3 separate regions of the Homo sapiens genome follow, and regions 1 and 2 are each linked to region 3. Evidence: promoter capture Hi-C in human tissues and cell types (Jung and others, 2019). All regions are on one chromosome and are shown on one strand. The core of a region is centred on a gene start or on the middle of the fragment in contact, and the rest is flanking DNA. Distances in the headings are between cores, read along the strand shown. Region 1 overlaps FCHO1-AS1 (FCHO1 antisense RNA 1). Region 2 overlaps UNC13A (unc-13 homolog A). Region 3 holds the start of UNC13A (unc-13 homolog A).

What was found. Contacts are between HindIII fragments. The study calls those that stand out against the background at their distance.
Region 1: a fragment that was not itself captured here is called in contact with the fragment with the promoter of UNC13A in region 3 in 1 of the 25 tissues and cell types used here (mesenchymal stem cells).
Region 2: a contact is called between a fragment that was not itself captured here and the fragment with the promoter of UNC13A in region 3, in 4 of the 25 tissues and cell types used here (bladder, mesenchymal stem cells, small bowel and 1 more).

What each region holds. Positions count from the first base shown.
Region 1 is chr19:17,740,036-17,744,531 of GRCh38, reverse strand. The region is part of intron 3 of FCHO1-AS1 (FCHO1 antisense RNA 1); the gene reads left to right. Among named protein-coding and RNA genes, the nearest start is that of FCHO1-AS1, 9.1 kb to the left of the region's middle. RefSeq lists an enhancer at 378-672. The HindIII fragment of the contact is 3,992 bases long and covers 1-3,978 here.
Region 2 is chr19:17,646,077-17,648,576 of GRCh38, reverse strand. It overlaps UNC13A (unc-13 homolog A), which reads left to right. Exons shown (of 44, transcript NM_001080421.3): 16 at 1-146; 17 at 1,085-1,312; 18 at 2,466-2,500. Among named protein-coding and RNA genes, the nearest start is that of UNC13A, 41 kb to the left of the region's middle. The HindIII fragment of the contact is 7,628 bases long and covers 1-2,500 here.
Region 3 is chr19:17,686,644-17,690,951 of GRCh38, reverse strand. UNC13A (unc-13 homolog A) reads left to right here and starts at 2,598. Exons shown (of 44, transcript NM_001080421.3): 1 at 2,598-2,774. The coding sequence starts at 2,753. RefSeq lists a silencer at 3,080-3,262 and enhancers at 2,496-3,456, 3,457-4,308. The HindIII fragment of the contact is 19,419 bases long and covers 1-4,308 here.

The sequences.
Region 1 (4,496 bases), core at 733-3,232, 54 kb before region 3:
CAGGCTGGTCGTGAACTCATGACCTCAGGTTATCCTCCTGCCTCGGCCTCCCAATGTACTGGGATCACAGGCATAAACCACCACACCCGGCCAATGTGTACTTGTTACTGGGGTGACGTGTCTTGGAGGCCCTGTCTGCAGACAGAGCAGGGAGCTGTATGTGTGTATATATGTATATACACATATCTGTACATATTTTGCTGTAACTATCTATATTGGGTTGAACATGAGCTCAGCCTCCTCCCCTTGCCTGTCTGTGATCTTCTACTTTATCCCTGAGAAACCTGGCTCCCACTGTCAGCCCTCCAAAGTAGGAGGCAGGACTCAACTCCAGAGGTGGGGCTGCGACATTGGACCAAATTGAGGACTAGCTATTATAAAACAGACCCCCAGGGAAGGGGCTTTCCTTAAGACATGCCCACTGGTGTGCCATGTCAGTTTACCATTGCCATGACAACATGCAGAAGTTACCACCCTTTTCCATGGCAACAACCCTGATGACTCAGAAGTTGTCACCCTTTTCCTGGAAGTTTCTGCATACACTGCCCCTTAATTTGCATATATATACATATATATATATATATATATATATATATATTTTTTTTTTTTTTTTTTTTTTTTTTTTTTGAGATGGTATCTTGCTCTGTTGCCCAGGCTGGAGTGCAGTGGCATAATCTCAGCGCACCGCAACCTCTGCCTCCTGGGTTCAAGCGATTCTCCTGTCTCAGCCTCCTGAGTAGCTGGGATTACAGGCGCACACCACCATGCCTGGCTAATTTTTGTATTTTTAGTAGACACGGGGTTTCACCATGTTGGCCAGGCTGGTCTCAAACTCCTGACCTTAGGTGACCCACCCGCCTCAGCCTCTCAAAGCGCTGGGATTACAGACTTGAGCCACCACGCCTGGCCTTCATTTGCATATAATTAAAAGTGGGTATACATATGAGTGCAGCTGTGCCTGTGAGCTACTATTCTGGATGGACTGCCTATGCACAGTGGTCTTGCTCAGCAAGGAACAGCACCTCTGATGCTGCTCTACACGGCCATTTCAGTAAATGCCGCTGTTTAGGGCCAAGCGCGGTGTAATCCCAGCACTTTGGGAGGCTGAAATGGGTGGATCACCTGAGGTCAAGAGTTCGAGACCAGCCTGGCCAACATGGAGAAACCCTGTCTGTACTAAAAATACAGAAATTAGCTGGGCATGGTGGCTCATGCCTATAATCCCAGCTATTCGGGAGGCTGAGGCTGGAGGATTGCTTGAGTCAGGGAGTTGGAGGCTGCAGTGAGCTATCATCACACCACTGCACTCCAGCCTGGGCAACAGCGAGACTCTGTCTCAAAAAAAAAAAAAAAAAAAAAGCCAGACCAGACCTGGCGGTGGGCACCTGTAGTCCCAGCTACTGGAGAGGCTGAGGCACGAGATTTACTTGATACTGGGAGGTGGAGGTTGTAATGAGCCGAGATGGTGCCACTGCACTCCAGTCTGGGTGACAAGGCGAGACCCTGTCTAAAAAAAAAAAAAAAGAAAGAAAGAAAAGGCCAGGCATGGTGGCTCACACCTATAATCCCAGCACTTTGGGAGGCTGAGATGGGCGGATCACCTGAGGTCAGGAGTTCAAGACCATTCTGGCCAATATGATGAAGCCCCATCTCTACTAAGAACAAAAAAATTAGCTGGGTGTGGGGGCAGGCACCTGTAATCCCAGCTACTTGGAAGGATGAGGCAGGAGAATTGCTTGAACCCAGGAGGCAGAGGTTGCAGTGAGCCAAGATCATGCCATCACACTCCAAGAGCTAAACTCCATCTCAGAAAAAAAGAAGAAGAAGAAAATGTTGCTGTTTACCAGCCTGGGCAACATGGCCGAACCCCATCTCTACAAAAAAAAAAAAAAAAAAAAAATACAAAAATTAGGCCAGGTGCGGTGGCTCAAACCTGCAATCCTGGCACTTTGTGAGGCCCAGGTGGGAAGATCACGTGAGCTCAGGAGTTTGAGACCAGCCTGGGCAAAATGGTGAAACCCTGCCTGTGCCAAAAATACAAAAAATTAGCTGGGCTCCATGGCTTGTGCCTGTAGACCCAGCTACTTGGGAGGCTGAGGTGGGAGGATCCCTTGAGCCCAGGAGGCAGAGGGAGCAGTGAGCGGAGATCATGCCACTGCACTCCAGCCTGGGTGACAGAGCAAGACGACCCCATCTCAAAAAAAAAATTAGGTGGGCATGGTGGACTGTGCCTGTGGTCCAAGCTTCTCAGGAGGCTGAGGTGGGAGGACTCCTGGAGGCTGCAATGAGCCAAGATCATGGCACTGCACTCCAACATGGGCATGAGAGTGAGACCCTATCTTAAAAAAAAAAGAAAGGAAAAAAGAAAAAGAAAAGTTGCTGTTTAACACAATTGACTTGCCCTCAAATTCCTTCCTGGGTGAAGCCAAGAACCCTCTCAGACTAAGCCCCAATTTTGAGGCTTGCCTGTCCTATCACCTTCACGTGCTCAGCTGTTCCATTGAAGTGCATGTGTGTAGCAATTCCAGAATGTTTAACTGGGACCCACAGTGGGGTTTCAAACAGAAACTGCTCACCTTTTTCTCCAGCTTGAAACACTCCCCAGACTCCCCAGCACTCTTGGTAAAAACTGCAAACCTGTCTCAGCAGCCCATCATGCTTATGGGGTCCGGCCCTCCCTACATTCCTGTCCTCACCTCTCTCTACCCACCTCAATGCAGGGGGCACAAAAGCCGTTCCACCTCAGGGTGCATCTGACTGGTAACTTTCCTACCTTGAGCTCTTAGTTCCTGTTTGGTCCCCTCCTCCAGGAAGCCCTCCATCTGGCCTCCCAGGCTCCTTTCCCAACTTTAGCTCTTATGGTCCCTTCCTCCAGGAAGCCCTCCATCTGGCCTCCCAGGCTCCTTTCCCACCTTTAGCTCTTGTGGTCCCCTCCTCCAGGAAGCCCTCCTTCTGGCCTCCCAGGCTCCCGTCCCACCTTTAGCTCTTAGTTCCTATGTGGTCCCCTCCTCCAGGAAGTCCTCCTTCTGGCATCCCAGATTTCCTTCCCACCTTTAGCTCTTAGTTCCTATGTGGTCCTCTCCTTCAAGAAGCCCTCCAGCTAGCTTCCCAGGCTCCTGAAAACCCATCTGGTTTTCCTTCCAAGCCAGTGCTGATCCCCCAGGACTGGGATGTTATGTTAGGCATTGCCCCCTCCCCCTCCAGCCTGGGAGCTTCTTGGGGGCCCTGGCCCTGGTACTATCCACACCTGTCAGGTGAGGTCTGAACTGCATCCACACTCCCCCAGACACTCCACTCCCAAGCCTGGGCCAGGGGAAACAGAGCTCAGAGAAAGCAAGCTACTCTTGGAAGTCACACAGCAAACACACGTCAGAGGCAGGACTTGACATGGGTGTGCTGGTACCACAGCTCACACCTGCCCTGGGCCCAGATCCCAAAGGATGCTGTAGGGGGTGGGGAGGACAGGATGACATAGGTCAGGCCTGTCTGGAGTGCCTGGGGCCGAACAGGCCAGGGAAGAAAACTCAGGGGTCCAGTTGCCAAAACAGCCCAAGGCTCCCTGCTCTTCCTGGAGGTTCAGGCCAACTTTCTTATTTCTGAGACTGGGGAAGAGGAGAAGCCCAGAGAGGTTAAGGAACATTCCCGAGGTCACCCAGCAGTGCTGCCAAGCTGGGGCACAACCAACATTTCCCAAGAACCTGGTGTGTGGGTACAGGTACTGGGTCCTGTCCTGGGCAGCGGGCACCCAGAAACAACCAAGATGGAGAGGGTGCAGCTCTCATGGGCTCACAGTTGGGGGAATCAATATAAACATATTGACATATAAACATATAAACAAGTAAGAGTCTGCTAGGGCTATGGATTAAAAGGAAATACAACAGGAAGATGTGCTGGTGGACAGGACGACACTTTATTTATTTATTTATTTATTTATTTATTTATTTATTTATTTATTTTGAGATGAAGTCTCGCTTTTGTCCCCCAGCCTGGAGTGCAATGGTGCGATCTCGGCTCACTGCAACCTCCATCTCCCGAGTTCAAGTGATTCTCCTGCCTCAGTCCCCTGAGTAGCTGGCATTACAAGCGCCCGCCACCACGTCCAGCTAGTTTTTGTATTTTTAGTAGAGACGGGGTTTCACCATGTTGGCCAGGCTGGTCTCAAACTCCTGACCTCAGGTGTTCCCAAAGTGCTAAGATTACAGGCGTTGAGCCGCTGCGCCCGGCCTTATTTATTTATTTTGAGACAGTCTCACTTTGTTGCCCAGGCCATCTCAGCTCACTGCAACCTTCACCTCCCAGGTTCAAGCGATTCTCCTGCCTTATCCTCTCGAGTAGCTGGGATTACAGGCACCCACCACCACGCCCGAATAATTTTTTTTTTTTTTTTTTGAGACGGAGTTTTGCTTTTGTCGCCCAGGCTGGAGTGCAGTGACGCGATCTCGGGTAACTGCAACCTCTGCCTCCCGGGTTCAAGTGATTCTCCTGCCTCAGGCTCC
Region 2 (2,500 bases), core at 1-2,500, 41 kb after region 3:
AGTGTGGACGGCCACCACGCCCACCTACTGCTACGAGTGCGAGGGGCTGCTGTGGGGCATCGCGAGGCAGGGCATGCGCTGCACCGAGTGCGGTGTCAAGTGCCACGAGAAGTGCCAGGACCTGCTCAACGCCGACTGCCTGCAGCGTGAGCGCAGGGCCTGAGCGCAGGGCCACGGGTTGGCGTGGGGAGCCCCGGGGCTTGCATGGCGGGGAAAGGCTGAAGGGCAAGGCGATGGGTGGGGCACCATGGGGCGGGGCAAGGGGCGGGGCGTCGTGAGGCAGGGGAGGGACTCGCTGAAAGGGAGGGGTGGGGTTAAAGGCGCAGGACTCCCTGGTGGAAGGGCTAGGGGGTCGAGGGGTGGGGAAAGAAGCTGTGAGGGTGTCAGAGAGGGGTGGGGCAGGGCTCAGGGACTAGCTAGGTTGTGCAAAGGACAGGCTTAGTGAGAAGAGGCAGCTCCCCTGGATAAAATGGGTTAGCTAGGGGTAGCTCTGAGAGGAAGAGGGGCTCAGAGAGGGAAGGGGTTCAGACTGCGAGAGGACTGTGGAGGGGGGGATTGGAAGGGGGAGGGGACTCAGAGGAGGTGGGACCAAGAGAAAGGGAGGGGTCTGAGAGATGGAAGGGGCTCAGGAATGTGGAGGGGACTCGCAGGGGTGGAGATCAGAGACGAGGAGGGGATTCAGAGGAGTGGGGCTCAGAGAGGCAGCGGGACTCAGAGGGGTGGGACTCAGAGAGGGGGCGGAGATTCAGAGGGGTGGGACGCAGAGGGGGCGGGGACTCAGAGGGGTGGGGCTTAGGGAAGAGGCCTTAGAGGGGTGGGGCTCCAAAAACCAGTGGGGACTCCAAGGGGTGCGGGGCAGAGAAGGGCAGGACGCAGGGACATGGCGACTCAGAGGAGCATGGCTCCGAGAGGAGGTGGAAGGGTGAAGGGTCTGGGTGGGGGGTACAGAAAGCAGGTAGGAAACCGGCTTCAGGGGGTGACACCTGAGTCCCCCCGGTTGATGAGTAGGGGCGGGGCTCTCGCCTTGGTGAGGGGCCACTATGCAGGGCGCGCTGGGGTCAGCGCCGGCCTCGGGCGTCCTCAGGGGCTGCGGAGAAGAGCTCCAAGCACGGGGCGGAGGACCGGACACAGAACATCATCATGGTGCTCAAGGACCGCATGAAGATCCGGGAGCGCAACAAGCCCGAGATCTTCGAGCTCATCCAGGAGATCTTCGCGGTGACCAAGACGGCGCACACGCAGCAGATGAAGGCGGTCAAGCAGAGCGTGCTGGACGGCACGTCCAAGTGGTCCGCCAAGATCAGCATCACCGGTGAGGGGGCGTGGGCCGCCATAGGGCCCCTCCTTCTCCACCCTCTGAGACCTGTCTCATGCCCTGTCCCATGGCCTGGTCCCTCTCCTTTGCAGCGCGCACTCACTCGGTCGGGTGCATTCCATCTCATCTCCGTGTGTGCACGCATATGGGGGGACATGCGTGCCTCCAAACGCCTGTTCATGGCACTGTATCTGGGTGCGTCTTGGATGGTGCCCTCCAGAATGAGACTCCAAGAAGAGGAATTGAGGGTGCATGGTTTATCTGGAAAGTGACCCCAGAAAGTCCTGGTGAGGGGCAAGGACTTGAGACAGGGATGGAAGGAGTCCTGAAGGAGATGCCGTTGAGCAGACAATGCTGTGGGCAAGGGGGTCAGCCCATCCTGGGGCCACTGGGGACAATGTCGAGCATGCAGCTCAGTGTGGCCCCACTTAGGGGCGAGGATACTGGCTTTTCTCCACACCCAGCCTCATGTGGGTTTCCCCATAAACAGACCTGAGGATGAGGATTTCAGGTTATGTGGGTTATCCAGGAAGTGACCCCAGGACGGAGCTGGGGTGGTAAGTCAGGGAGGGAAGGAACCCTGCAGGGGGCACCAACGAGCAGGAGATCTCGGGGGGCAATGGGTTCTTGTAAGTGTCTGACCTCAGGGAGTTCACACCTGAGAGAGGTCCTACCCATGCGCAAGGCAGCTGGGGCACCTTCCCATCCTTCATGGTTTGGGGACTCCTTCCCAGCACTTTGGGAGGCTGAGGCTGAGGCAGGCGGATCACCTGAGGTCAGGAATTCGAGACCGACCTGGCCAACATGGTGAAACCCCATCTCTACTAAAAATGCAAAACGATTGGCCGGATGGGGTGGCACGTGCGGGTAATCCCAGCTACTTGGGAGGCTGAGGCAGGAGAATTGCTTGAACCCGGGAGGCGGAGGTTGCACTCCAGCCTGGGTGACGAGCAAAACTCTGTCTCAAAAACAAACAAACAAACAAACAAACACACAAAAAACCTCTCTGGCAAGCCCAGCGTGCCCTGCCATTGCTCTCCAGCCATGCTGCAGGTGTCCCAATTATCAGCCTGCAGCGTGTGGCAGTGACTGTCCCCAGCATGCCTCGCTTCTTGAGTGCACACCTGTGTATGCCCTCTGTGTCTTCCAGTGGTCTGCGCCCAGGGCTTGCAGGCAAAGGACAAG
Region 3 (4,308 bases), core at 1,349-3,848:
GGGAGGCTGAGACAGGAGGATTGTCTGAGCTCAGGAGCTCACACCACTGTACTACAGCCTGGGTGACACAATGAGACCTTGTCTCAAAAAAATAGAAACATGCAAGAGGTAACCATGTATTGTTTGCTAAGGAGCATGTGGTAAACTATAAGGAAAAGGAAGAAAATGAAAAACAAAATTTGTGATAGTTCTTCCATCTGCAGGGAAGGATTATGAGATTGGGGAGAGGCACATGGGGGTCTTTTATTGTGATGGTATTTTTTTTTTTTTTTGAGACGGAGTCTCTCTCTGTCACCCAGGCTGGAGTACAGTGGCCCGATCTCGGCTCACTGCAAGCTCCGCCTCCCGGATTCACGCCTTTCTCCTGCCTCAGCCTCCTGAGTAGCTGGGAATACAGGCGCCCGCCACCACGCCCGGCTAATTTTTTGTATTTTTAGTAGAGACGGGTTTTACCGTGTTAGCCAGGATGGTCTCGATCTCCTGACCTTGTGATCACCCCGCCTCAGCCTCCCAAAGTGCTGGTATTATAGGCGTGAGCCACCGAGCCCGGTCGATGGTAATTTTTTTTATCCAAGCCTGCTCCTCATAGTTTATCTACTCATTGATGTTTAATAAAACATCAATGTTTTATTGATTATCAATGTTTAATAAAACATCTACTCATTGATGTTTAATAAAAATTTAAGACCAGGCATGGTGGCTCATGAGCCTGTAATCCCAACATTTTGGGAGGCTGAGACGGGAGGATCACTTGAGCCCAGGAGTTTGAGACAGCCTGTGCGACATGGTGAAACTCTGTCTCTACAAAAAATACAAAAATTAGCTGTGCTGATTTTTTTAAAAATTTAAAGCAGTGACAGATACAAACATGGTTACTATTAGGCATTAAGATTACAACTGGGGCCAGGCGCGGTGGCTCATTCGTGTAATCCCAGCATTTTGGGAGGCCACGGTGGGTGGATCACTTGAGGTCAGGAGTTTGAGACCAGCCTGGCCAACATGGTGAAACCCCATCTCTACAAAAAATACAAAAAAATTAGCTGGATGTGGTGGCGAGCGCCTGTAATCCCAGCTACTCAGGAGGCTGAGGCAGGAAGATCACTTGGAGGTTGAGGTTGCAGTGAACTGAGATGGTGCCACTGCACTCCAGCCTGGGCCACAGATTGAGACTACACCTCCAAAAAAAAAAAAATTACAACTGGTTTCACATGTTAACTCATGTAATACCTCCAGCAACCTTGTGAGGCAGGACTTGTTATCATATTCATTCTACAGGTGCGGAAACTGAGGCACGAGGAGGTCACAAGACCTGCCCAAGGCCATGCTTGTGATGAGAGACAGAGTTTGGTTTTGAACAATGGCCTCACTCAACTCCATGCACATTCTGCATTTATGAAGCTCTTTCATGTGGGCTGGGGGCAGGAGACCCTGTGGGGCTCAGCCTTTCATGCTAGTTTAGGTGCCAGTGATACAGCGAGCAGGTTGCAGGGCAAGGGGCCCACATGGAGCTGCCCAGTTTGATATGTGGGGAGGGGGCCAGGCGCAGTGGCTCAGGTCTGAATCCCAGCACTTTGGGAGGCCGAGATGGGCGGATCCCCTGAGGTCAAGTGTTCAAGACCAGGCTGGCCAACATGGTGAAACCTCGTCTCTACTAAAAATAAAAAAAATAAAATAAAAAAAAAAAGCTGGGCATGGTGGCATGCGCCTGTAGTCCCAGCTACTCGGGGAGGCTGAGGCAGGAGAATCTCTTGATCCCAGGAGGCAGAGGTTGCAGTGAGCCAAGATTGCGTCACTGCATTCCAGCCTGGGCTGCAGAGGGAGACTCCATCTAAAAAAAAGAAAAGTGGGGAGGAGTGGCAGAGTTTCGTTCGGGTCAGGGCCCAATCAGAGGAAGGGATAGGGGCTGGGGGAGTCCAGAGAGGAGAAACAAAGGCTCAGCTTGGGGCAGTCAGGGAAGCCTTCCTGGAGGAGAGGATATTCAGACAAGACATTGATGGATGAAAAGGAGTTCAGAGTGTGGGCAAGGACCCATGGGCTGGATGGCTTAGAGACATAGAGAGAGACCTAGACAGGATGCAGTAGAGCTGCAAAAAGACTTTACAGAGAGAGGCTAAGAGACACATGACTGAGAGAGCAGTGGACAGAGTCAGAGGAACAGAGACCCAGGGAGAGAAAGAGACCAGGCAGTAGAGTTAGAGAGACAGAGACGTAGAGACAGAGGAAGAGAGATACTCAGAGAACAGGACCATCTGCCCGGTGCTGGTGCCGGGCGTACACACAAGAGCTTGCATTTGCCTGTACTTGCTTGAGTATTGCAGGGAGGCGTTTGCCCAGGTTACCAGGGCAGGAATGTCCATGCATGGGTGGCGGGGGCACGTGCACCATTTCAGTGCAGGTGAGGGTCTGCACAGGAGGAAACCTGCTTGGGGGCCGCCGTCGCCCCTTGTCCCCCTGCAACGAGGAGGTGTGGGGCGAGGCGCCCCTTCCCGGAGCCAGGCCCTTTAACGCCCCCCCAGCCCGCAGCGCCCCCGCCCCATCAGGCGTCCCTGGGCTCCGCCTGCCCGCCCCGCATCAGCGCCACGTCAGGCGCTGTCCGCGCCCCCGGTGCTGAACCAAGATGGCCGGTGGCGGCCGGGCCCCGGCGTGAGCCAAGCGCGGGCTGCAGCCGGGAGATGCCCCAGCCCAGCGGCCGCTGAGCCCGACCCGACAGAGCCGGCCCGGCCGCCTCCGGCCCACCTGCGAGCTCGGAGACATGTCTCTGCTTTGCGTTGGAGGTAGGAGGCGAGGCTGGGGGTCGGGGGACCCGTGTGGACGCGGGCTGGGGTCGGGGTCCGCGTGGATGCGGCTCCCAGGGGGTTCCTGGGGGGTGACCCGAGTCCAGGTGGCTGGACTTTTGAGAGGGGTAGCCCTTGTCGACGCAGCTGGGCCCCGGAGGGGGTGATCCGTGTAGACGCGGCAGGGCTCTCGGGGGTCCTGGTGGCCGCTGCTGGAGGGGTCGTGTGGACGCGGCTGAACGCGGAGGCCCGTGTGGACGTGGACGGGTATCCGGGGTTCTACCCGGAAACGATCTAGACTGGGGCGTCTGTGTAGACCAGGTTTTTAGAGGGTCAGTGAGGAAGAGTCTGGGCTCGGTAGTTTGATTGAAGCCTGCAGGGGTGCTTGGAAGGGGTCTGGTGTTGTGGGCTGGGTTACGGGTCCTCATGGACGCGGACCCGGCTGGAAATTCGAAGGAGAGTGCGGTGGGAGGGTTCTCCAAGCCGTGGGGATGTAAGATATAGGTAGAGGGGCTTGGCCATCAGGGCATCCACGAGTTCTAGGACTCTCCCAGCCCTAGGTGTAAAGAGGACTGGAGTGGGGGGAGTGTGGAGACAGGAGACCCCTCCCAGCGTCCAGAGAGGGCTGTGACTGGAGGTCTGGGGGCGCTTTTCCAGTTAACTCTTTGGCCTCCCGAGTGAGGGGGTTGGAGGAATGTCCAGAAGGTCTTCCCGCTCCCTGCCCCCTCCGGTTCTCCCAAACACGTTTCAGGGCCTTCTCGGCAGGGAGCCTACTTCTTGGAAGAGCAATGTCTCCTGGTCCCCCTCCTGGCCCATCCTCACCTCACCCACTTTGCACTGGAGAGAGGGAGGGAGGGAGACGTGAGGTGGGGGGGGAGCTATTTTGGGGCCAGAACGCCATCTGCACAGAGGCCCACGCCCAGGCCCACGCTCTGCGTTGGGGTTGGAGGAGGGAGGGAGACGTGGGAGGGGCATGACCCCCCACCCCACACCTTTATGGCTCTGGGGTCGTGGGGAAGCCAGCCCAACCGAACCCAGGCGTTCTGGGCACTCCCGTTTGAGAAATCAAACTCTGGGAGACCTTGGGCGGCAGGGGTGGATGTGGACCGCCGTTCCACGCCTACAGAGCTCTGAACCCCTGGTTCTTAAGGACTGGGGTCCCCCCGTCACTCCCACCCATTTCAAGAAGGCTGGGGTGGGGGAAGGGGTGTGTCTGCCAAGCCTGAGACTGCAGGCTTCGGGAGACCTCGGGCGACAGGAAGCGTGCGTGTGCTGAACTCCTGCTGCCTGGACACAGGGTGGGCAGGCCGGGGAGCCGGGAACCGCCCCCGCCGCCCCTCCTCCTCCCTCCCCTCCCCCTCGGCCGATTCATTCACAAACCCTGCCCCGCCCGCCCGCTCCCCGCCGCGGCAGCTTCCGAGTGCAAATCCGGCCGGGCTGGGCCGGCGTGGACGCGGGTGTTCTTAAAGGGACAGGGGCCTACTTTCTCTAAGCTCGTTTCTGCTGGACGGGGCTGGGGGTGGTGGAAGAAGGG